Regions from separate parts of the Homo sapiens genome. Here region 2 is linked to region 1. The links are contacts of gene promoters, found by promoter capture Hi-C in blood cells and fetal thymus (Javierre and others, 2016). All regions are on one chromosome and are shown on one strand. Each heading gives the region's core, a stretch centred on a gene start or on the middle of the fragment in contact. The rest is flanking DNA. Distances are from core to core; before and after follow the strand shown. Region 1 holds the start of OMA1 (OMA1 zinc metallopeptidase). Region 2 overlaps FGGY (FGGY carbohydrate kinase domain containing).

The links. The method cuts DNA at HindIII sites, captures the fragments that hold promoters and counts their contacts. A CHiCAGO score of 5 or more calls a contact.
Region 2: a contact is called between a fragment that was not itself captured here and the fragment with the promoter of OMA1 in region 1, in 1 of 17 cell types (monocytes). The highest score is 5.1, in monocytes.

The regions. Positions count from the first base shown.
Region 1 is chr1:58,544,356-58,549,554 of GRCh38, reverse strand. It overlaps OMA1 (OMA1 zinc metallopeptidase), which reads left to right and starts at 2,829. Exons shown (of 9, transcript NM_145243.5): 1 at 2,829-2,852. It also overlaps a transcript of DAB1 not described here. RefSeq lists enhancers at 2,391-2,580, 2,794-3,420 and silencers at 2,981-3,080, 3,091-3,180. The HindIII fragment of the contact is 5,811 bases long and covers 1-3,656 here.
Region 2 is chr1:59,546,863-59,552,172 of GRCh38, reverse strand. All of the region lies in intron 7 of FGGY (FGGY carbohydrate kinase domain containing), which reads right to left. Among named protein-coding and RNA genes, the nearest start is that of MIR4711, 180 kb to the left of the region's middle. The HindIII fragment of the contact is 1,119 bases long and covers 1,352-2,470 here.

The DNA of each region.
Region 1 (5,199 bases), core at 1,580-4,079:
GAGAAGCATGTTACAGAAGCAAGAAACAAAGACAGTTATTTAATTAATTGAGGCATGCATTACATCATTTCTTACTTTTCAAGGAAAAACGTGTCTTAATGGCTTGAGTTTATCTGTCTAGTGACCTTGCAGCGCACAGCTAAAGAAACAGGGTCTTTACAATGCCTGGGAAAGGGAGAGATAAGGCTCACTAGCCACAGAAAAACAGGCAGTTAATATTTAAAGGACTCCAGCTCTTTCTCTTTCTCGGGGGGAGGTGGGTTTTCTTACATAGAACTGAGTTTCTGTTTACACATTCTTTAATTTCTTTTAATTCCTATTCCAGAACAAGCCTGGCTAAATAAAAATTCATTGTCTTGGGGGCACTTTCTTGGGACTTGGGACTGTAGAAGATGGGTAAACTCACTGCTAGGTGACTATTAGAAGCTGAGAGAAAGCCATAGTGCATGCAGAGTAAAGCAGGAATGCCCGAATTGCCCTTGCAAATGGTAGAAGGACAGAGGAGCTGAGGGAAGTGGACTTGCCTGAAAGAATTTTTTTTGTGTGTAGAGCCCGAAGGCAGACAGAGGGGAATGTTCCATGGGAGGCCCAGAGGATGCATCATATTCTATGGCCATGGGGAATGCACTGGCGTGAGGGGCACTAGCATCACTAAGAAGTTCAGAGAAGGCTCTCCTCTGGAGGGAAGGGCTGACGGTAGGAGAGGCAATCACAGGGCTGGGCTTGATAATATCCATTGGGATAACAGGATCCTGAAGTAGTAGAAGCCAGGTGGTGGCTTTAACCATGAGGACACCAGAAGATGTAATTACTGTAACATCTGCCAAGGGCAGAGGAGCAGCCAAGGGGGCTTGATCCACAGGAGGTTGTGGAGGGCTTTAATAGCATAAGGTCTCCCTAGGGGAAAAACAGACGGGCAGCCAACAAGAGTGTTGCCTAACATCTACAACTGGAGGAAGACAAGAAGCTATTTATCCTATGCAGGGAGTAGTTGCTTAATAAAAGGCACTGCTCATTGCTCAAGTCTCAGACCTGAGCCTATCTTCACACTGAGACCACAGAATCTGTTGACTTAAGAGGTTGTTGGGTCCCTATAAAGAAGAATCCTGCAATACTGAAACAAATATTTACTGTAATTAATGATTACTCTTTGGTCTGTGTCCCACGGCCATTTTCTTGACTGATTTTATGTTGAGGAAAGAGGAATACCCAGACATTTCACAGGTGTTACCCAAAGTATGTAACACACATGGCTCCTCTCTAAGTGTGGGGGCTTATGGGGATCAGGTAATAAGCAGAGTCCTGGATAATGTCCAGCTTACAGTGGGTCCAGGAATACACTGACCCATCCAGTAGTCATTTTCTTAGTTCCTGAGTGCATAATTGGGAGTACATATTGGGCAGCTGGAGCAATCTCCACATTGGTAAGAAGCTCAGGGTCCTTGGTCTTGAGTTATCATGGTGGGGAAAGCCAATGGGAAGCCTCTGAAGCTGTCCTTCTTTCCAAGTGAAGATAATAAATCAAAACCGATATTTCATCTGAGGGGATAGTGAGATGATGGTGGAGATTAATGTCATAATTAAAGACCTGAAATATACAAGAGTGGTTGGTCATCCCTGCCATATCTCTACTTAACTTGCCAGTCTGGCCCCTTTGGAAATCAGGTGGACCCAGGATAATGACATAATGGCTCTGCGCAGTCCAAAAGGAGCTGGATCAACTGGAAATTCCAGAGAACATCACACCCATCTATTTCACCAATGACATTATGCTAACCAGGCAAGATGAGCAAGAGGTGGCTAGCATGCTGGAAACTTTGGTAAGACATGTGCACTCCAGAGTTTGGGAGATAAACCCTACGAAGACTGAAGGACCTCCTACTTCAGTTTTTAGGGGTCCAGTTGTCAGGGGTTTTCCAGGATATCCCTTTCAAAGTAAAAGGCAAATCATAAAATACACATAAGATAAACGAAACAGTAACTTACACATTTTCCAAAAGAGATACCTAAAATTGTTCATAGTGTTTATGTCCTTTGACATAGTGTTTATGTCCTTTGAGATGTTTTCATTGTGCACAGAGTGTAAACATAATAAACTAATATGAGACCTCACTACTCATCCATCACAATCCAGTGTTTATTTGTACTGGCTTATTTGTACACTTTTATTTATTTGTGTTTATTTGTACACTTTTTTTTAATCGCCTGTCTTTCCTCACTGTGATATAAAGTTCACGAAATTCAGGTCTGTCTTGTTCACTGCTACATCCTTGGCACTTAAAATGTAGTTGATGCTCAAGAAATATGTTTTGGTGAAATGAATGAAACATACTATACACATAATTTTGGAGCCAGCTACTTTAACCTCCAGACACTTAAGATTATACTTCATCTTTCTTAAAATGCGTCCCTCCAAAAATCATATGAAAGCACTGTTCCCATACTCCAAAGACTATTTCTATGAATGCAGATTCAGAACCAGGAAGCCTTCGTCTTTTGGCAGTCTTCGAGTCTCTTCCCTTTTGGCCGGTACTGCCGTAGAGACTACAACGGACACAGCCTTGCGTGGATCATTCTTTAGAGGACCCAACTCACCAAAGACGGGAGAAAGTTGTTCCTAGGCAAGCAGCCCAGCCCAGGGCCATGTCCCGCCTTAAGCCACACGGAGGCGCTAGAGCGCCACAGTCTCCGCGGGGCCCGGGGCAGCTGGGAGAACGACTCTGGGCGGCTGTATTGACTGCCGGGTGTGGGCGGAGCGAAGGGCGCCCCGGCCGGTATGGCGGGCAGGAAGTGCGGGTGCGCGCCTGCGCATAGGTCGGGTCTGCGGTGTCACCGCTTTCGCTTCTGCTTGAGTCAGTCCTCACGGTGACGCTTTTCCCCAGCTTTTCCGAGTAGGATCGTGCCCAGGGGAGGAGGCAGAGTGCGGCAGTGGGGAGGGGGCGGAGCGCAGAGCGCCTGCGGGGGCGCCCGGGCAAGGAGTGGGGATCCTTGGGGATGGGGGTACGGGAGGAGGCGTGGGTGGGCGATAAGGCTGCGTGGAGGGGAGGGGCGGGGGGCGCCGGGGCGGGAGACGGAGGGGATCTGTCCTGGGGGAGCCCGGTTCTCCCCTAGCCTTGCCCGGGGCACGCCGGTGACCCCGTGTGTCTGCCCCGTGGCAGTACTTTCGTGGGCCGCCTGCCCTCCCCCTCAGCCCGCCCTTATCCGCGGCTCCGCTTTCAGAGCAGGGTTTCTCACCCGCGGGGCTTCGGGCTCCTCACCCGGCACCTCTGCCAGAGGGGACCGCCTCCCGGCGCGTCGGGCATTCGTCTCTTTCACCCCTTCCCTCTTCAGGAGAAACTGAACACGTTTTCCAGCCTAAACTCGGCAGGGCAAACCAGAACATTCCCCGTCTAAGCAGTTCCGGGGAGTTTTAACAATTTCCTCGTAAACTCGTCTACAGAACTCACTGTATACTGTTTAAATGTCGCCTGTGTGTGGAGCAACAGTTTTATTGTGCCGTGCAATCCTCAACAAGAAATTGTAGTCCAGGGAGATGAAAATCCCTTATTTGGCATTCAGGCGTTGATCAAGGTCGTGCAACCCTCGCTAAAAGGATTTAGGTTCATCTCCGTCATTCTCAGCCGGGGTGAAGGGGTGTAGTCTGACATTTGGAAGCTTAAGAACCAAGTCTGCTGCCGTCCAATTCTTTTTTAAAGCCTTCCATCATGTGTGTACTTTGCTTGAATGATTATTTTAAAGTACATGTCCTATTTTTGCCAATCTGACAGCTGTTTCCATAGAAACTAGAGAAGAAATAGTCATTTTCAGCAAGAGTTGTTAAAACTGTCTTCCAGGCTTCAGCTGTGAGTGCCAGTGAGTGCTGCACTTGCTCATTCGGAGATGGTACTTAAAGAATTAAGGATCTGAAATGTTCGTAGAGGCTAACAATCCAAATTGTTTAATTTTCTCACATCATTAATTTTGTTATCCTAGAAGTCTGCCAGCTATGTTTGTTGACCTGCCACAGCTCTTTGAAGAGAATATGTCAGCCCTGATTTTTTTTTTTCTTATGTGCTCTGTAGTCTAGTGATTGGCTCCTTGAAAATGCATGAATAGATTTCTTCCCTCATTCTTTACCCTTTCTTCAGGATAAACCGGGTATTACAAAATATCAGGCACTGTTTCTATTCAAAACGACACTTGGTTGTCAGTGATAGAAATGATAATGGTTTTAATTATATATGCGTAGTGTTGGGGCTTTTGCTTATACCTTCTGTGTCAATAGGATTCTTTTAAAATTTTTACACAAGTCATGAGAAATGAGAAGGAGTTTGCTTGTCATGTGCAGAGCTAAGCAGTGTGAATAGATGTGCATAGACATAGAGATGAGAGCTTTCTTTTTCTGTGGGGTGTAAGTAAATCAGGGAGTTTGGAATTTAGGAATGGGTGAAGGAGGGTTGGGGAAGGTGCCTGGAGAAGTAGTAGGAGGGCCTGGTTCGCCATATGAAGGAGTTTGTGGAAGCCATGGAAAACCAACGAAAGTCCAGGCGTGGTGGCTCATGACTGTAATCCCAACACTTCGCAGTGCAGTATGATCAGTTGAGCCCAGGAGTTAAAAACCAGCCTGGGCAACATAGTGACACACCGTGTCTACAGAAAAAAATTAAAAAATTAGCTGGGCTGGCCAGGTGCGGTGGCTCAGGCCTATAATCCCAACACTTTGGGAGACCGAGGTGAGCAGATCACTTGAGGCCAGGAGTTCGAGACTAGCCTGGGCAATTTGCCGAAACCCCGTCTCTACTAAAAATACAAAAATTAGCCAGATGTGGTAATGCATGCTTGTAATCCCAGCTACTGAGGAGACTGAGGCACGAGAATTGCTTGAACCCAAGAGGCGAGGTTGCAGTGAGCCGAGGTGGCACCACTGCACTCCAGCCTGGACAACGACAAAGTGAGACCCTGTCTCGAAAAGAAAAGAAAAACAATGGGAATTACAGAAATAGTTGCCTGAGTGGAGGTTTAAAAAAGTAATAATACATCCCGTAGAAATTTGAACTGCACAGAAATATATAAGGTGAAAATACTAATAATCCCTCTTAACCACCATCCTGCCATTCAAAATAATTGTGAATAGTTTGGTGTATCTTTTTTCAGATTTATTTTTGTATATACTAGCATATTTTCTCATTACTATTTTTGCAAATTGGGGAGGGTTTTTTA
Region 2 (5,310 bases), core at 662-3,161, 1.0 Mb before region 1:
GACAGGGCTGCCATGGCTCCAGCATCGGCTGGTGTCCCCTGCCCTCAGACTATGAGAACACCACCTCCCTCCTCCCTCCTTAGTCCCTCCAGCCTGGGGATGGTAGCTGCTTCCATTTCACTGATCTCTGATTTGCTTCACAGGGAATGTAGCCCTTCTCAGCTCCTCCATCATCAGGATCGCCATTTTTGGGTATTAAGTTACTGGTTTTTTAAACAATTAGAGTGGTTTGTGTTTTGCTGAGTGAATCCTGAGTGACACGATTCTCCATTCAGGGCACAAAGGCTTTTGTACAGGAATAACCCAAGATATGAGCTCATTTTAACTGAGCTCTTTTTACATGCTCTTTCTATACATGTCTCATTTTATTCTTACAACAAACTAATGTCATTGGTATTAGTATTATCCTCATTTTATGGATAAGAAAATCGAAGCTTAGAAATGAGTAGTAACTTCACCAGGGTCATGCAGCTCACAAGGAACTGGGCTGTGATTCACATTCAGGTAATCTGATTCCAAAGTGCTGGTTCTTCCCCACCAAGACTCACAGGTTTTTCTCTAAGATAAAAATCCAATAGCCAGGCAACCAATGTTCACTTATCTGTACATCTCAAAATCTTGGGATCTTAAATATATTGATTCTGAGATCCTTGACAGAAAAGGAGTTGGCCACGCTGCTCCACAGTATCATAAATAGGTTCAAGGAATTCCTGAGAATCACCCACATTTACTGGTTGCATAAACATAAAGTACAGGCAAAGTTAATGTTACAGGGTCAGTCAATACGAAAAGGGAATTAAAATGAAGGAAAAAGAAATGTGTAGGAAATATTTATTTGTTTCTTCTTGGGTTGGCAGATTCACTGCTGCTATATCTAGACTTAGAACCTGAGAACTAGTGTGCTATTATGAGAAAAGGATGGAATTTGGAGACAGAAGGATCTGCTATAAAATGAGGAAAATCACAACATCACATGGTTGTTGTGATATTGCAGAAATGCTTAAAAAGAGATGTTTAATGGTAGCTCTGTCACCATCATCACTACCATCACTCTCTCCACCACCACCATCATCACCATCATCATCATCTGAACCCCCTCTCAAGAGACAACTGGATTCTTCCTTTCTAGTAAACATATCAACATCAAAGATAGGCTGGGTACTGTGCTGAGCTCCTTGAATGTTCTCTCATTTAATCTTTGCAACATCCATAAAAGGTAAACATTCTTTCTTCCTCTTAATAGATGCAGAAGTAGAAGAACAGAGCAGAGTGTTCAGGTAACTTGCCCAAGGCCACATGGATTTAAGAAGCAGTGCCAGGATTTGACCTTGTTCTGTCTGACTCCAAAGCTTATGTTCTTTCTATACTCCTCACTTTATGATGTTATAATTGTCTTACATAATGAAAACATACTTGGAAGTGCTAGTTCACCATGAAACTCAGTGAGAGCCATGGGCTAAGAGTTAGAAAAACAAGAGTTTCAGCCCCAATTCTGCCACAAATGGCCTAAAAGTTTGAACTGGTTCTCTCATCCCCACAATGAGAGAAATGAATTACAAATGGAGGTCCTTCCTCAGCCATTCTCAGTATATACACAGTGCTTCTCCTAAAATACAAGCTGAGGTATCTCCTTACCTAAAATTATATATATTGGGCAGGACTGGCCTCATTTCCCCTCAAGAGGTTCTCTACACTCTGCCTAATGTCCACCCCAATTCAGCAGCCATGCATAGCTGATGTTCACTGCAAGACCACATGAGTCGGAGAGCTGACATCTTATTTTTCCTTTGGCCACACAGTGCTTTGATGGGCTATCCCCGAGAAAAGAGGTTCAGAGATAAGCAGGGAAAAGCAAGAAAAGGTGGGAGGAGCTTTCTTCTTTCCGGAGAAACATATTTTGCCATCCACAGAGAACTCACAGGCTGCATGTGTACATCAGGAAACAATTTGACACAAGTGCAGCCCTCGGTACCGCTGGGGCCCTTCATATGACCATACCAGTGTCAGTTTATTCTGCAATCCTCAAAATGTTTAAGGAGAAAAATTAGCAGATGAAGAAACAGGCATAAAAAAACAGTGACATCATCAACTGTGTTTTCCCTGAAACTTGCACAATGCCCAACTGATGGCAGTTGCTCAATAAATGTTTGTTGAACTAAAAAACAAATAGCAGAAAAACAGGCTAACTCAATGAATTAAATGTCTCCCAACCCTCCATGTAACACACATAGTTCATATCAAGCAATGTTTAAAAAGAATGTTAAAAAAGGAACATTTAAAACTTCATGAACAGCTCTCTTATTTAATATGCTGTCTCCCTTCATCTCTCCCATTCATCCAACCAACAATACTTCCACCCAAGCATTGAGTCCCTACTATATTTATGTAAAATAAAAAAGAGACTTTGCAAATGTTATGATTAAGAGTACATTTTCCTATAATTTATCACGCTGTGGCAGTTTTGAAAGCTTACAAGGTTATATAGAAGAAAAACATCCTGAGTTCTCGCATTTGTGTTATAATTATCTCCCACTTTATAGCCATATAAAGTACTTTATAGCTTGCAAAGTATCCTCAAACACTGTAACCTTCAATTAGTCCTTAGAAAATCCTGTGATATGTGTATTTTATTTCCAGTTCACAGTTGAAGAAATTGAATTTCAGAAAGGTGAAGTAATTTAGTCGAGTTTATTTAGTAACTTAGAGGTAGAAGTTGGACTCAACTAGGATTTTCAGTCTTTGAGTCTGATGTGTTGGCATCTTGAAAAAGATTCTCTTTTAATAACCTCAGGCACCTTCTCTGAAGTATCAAAAAGGATAAGAAGGGTTTTGAACATTATTTAAGACTACATCTGTTTGAGACTCTTGATTCAGTCATTTGGATGAATGAACTGACTGATGAATCCCATCCAGTGAGTTTCTTGCCAAAGCTGGCTGGGAGGTTTCTGGAGTTCCTGGAGAGGAAGGGCTCCAGAGAAGACTCTCTAGTGACCACCAGCTTTATACATGCAAATTGACAACTGTATGCTTCTGGAAGGATAAGAATCATATCAAAGACGTGTTCTCTGCAGAAGACTTAACACCAGACTACATACACGCAGACACTGAAGTCCATTATTTTGACTAACATTCATTTATGTTAAACAGAACACAATATATTGAGTTAGTATTATGGCACAGTGCTTAAAAATAAGGACTCATTCATCATGTGATTTCTTATCTTCTTTATGTTTCTTATCTTCCTTATGCCTCAATTTCCACATCTCTACAATATGAATAGTATCCTCCTCACAGATTATAAAAATTATATATGTTAATATAGGTGTAAAGTACCCATAACAGTGCTAATAAGAGCATTCTGTGATGATGGAAATGTTCTATATTTGCACTGTCTGATACAATAGATACCAGACACATGTGGCAATTGAGCCCTGAAAATGTGGCTAGTACAACTGAGGACTGAATTTTTTATTCTATCCTAATTAATTCACATTTAAGTAGCAACATATAGCTAGTGGATATTATATTGAACGGTACAGGTTAAAACATGCCTAGTACTATATGAACCTTTGCTGTTTTTATTACTTTTATTATTGTTATTGCTGTTTTTGTTGTTTATCTACTTCTTCAGAGTTAGACTTGAATCCCTCTTTCATCCCCTTGGGCAAAGATGCCTTGACCCCTTAGAACTTCAATTTCCATATCTGAAGAATTTGGATAGCAATACTCACCCACAAAGTTGCTGTGAGAATTAAATGAGATTTAGGTGGAACACACCAGTACTCAATAAATGGGAGATACGCCATCCACGACCTGCAGAATTGCCTGGCATGAGCAGGGTTCCATATGGTTGGGACCTTTTCTCCTTATTCCTGAATGTGATTTGGTGGTCCTTGCCACTAAGCATTTGTTTACTTTGCTCCCTCTGCCTAGGATATCCTTTCCACCAATACACCTCATCCCATAACAATCCTGGGGAACACCAACTCCATTTTGAAGACTCAGTTGCAGCATCAGAAGCCTTTCCTGATCACATCTCCCCACATCCCCAAAACACCCCAGACCAGCAGAACCGACCAAGCCTCCTTCCTTTGTAGCCCATCTTCTGACTCTCTACAGATTCTGTCACTGTAACTTTAGTTTATGTGTCTGCACAGACAACACAAACAAATCCCTCTACTACACTATAAGCAAACGGAGGCCAGGGCAAGTCTTCACACTGCAGTAGCTCACTATTTTTTGTTGTTATTGTTGATGAATGAATGAATGAATAAATGAATGTGTGTGGCAGAAGTCACATACTAGTAAAGCACAAGACATTTTCTAGGTAACAATAGCACATTTAATCACGGACAAAGGCTCCGTGTCTTAAATATGAATAAAGGTGAAAAATATTGATTGGTTTTGAGTGACAACTCATGGGTAATAATGTAATTACTGGAGCCTCACAACATACCTTGTCAAAAATCACTGGTAAAGACTAAAGGTTCTAAGATCCTTGATTATTGGGAGATTGCTTTGTGCTTGACACTTTGCAAATATTATCATATTTGATTCCCACAGTGATACTGCAAGGTAGTTATTATCACTTTGATTTACAAATAGAGAAAAGGAGAGTAAAGTTTTCCAAGCAACTTCTACAAGGTCCCACACTACTAAATTGTGGGGGACCTCGGGGTGGGACTATATCACACCCAGATCTACCTGACTCTAATTCTACCTTATCCTACATTATCTCGTGGAGTTCACAGAAGCTAGTTCCTTTCTTTTCAACTACTTACAAGAACTCCAACTATTCCTAGACAATAGGATAGCTGAACTCAGATCTCTTTCAGGACTTACTGTCAAAATGCCACTAAAGCAAACCCAAAGGGTTAACCTCAAGCCTAGCAAATGAAGGGGAGTAAAACAGTCAAAAAGGTGGCCGGGCATGGTGGCTTATGCCCGTAATCTCAGCACTTTGGGAGGCCGAGGCAGGTGGATCATGAGGTCAGGAGTTCAAGACCAGCCTGGCTAATATGGTGAAACCCCGTCTTTACTACAAATATAAAAATTAGCTAGGCATGGTGGCACGCGCCTGTAGTCCAAGCTGCTCAGGGGGCTGAGGCAGGAGAATTGCTTGAATGCAGGAGGTGGAGGATGCAGTGAATCGAGATCGCGCCACTGCATTCAAGCCTGGGCCACAGAGCGAGACTCCATCTCAAAAAAAAAAAAAAAAAAAAGTCAAAAAGGTAATCCCAATGTTTCATGAAGTATTGCTTTGACCTTGAAAGAAATGTGGTCTAGAACTTACCCCAACTAAATCCTAAA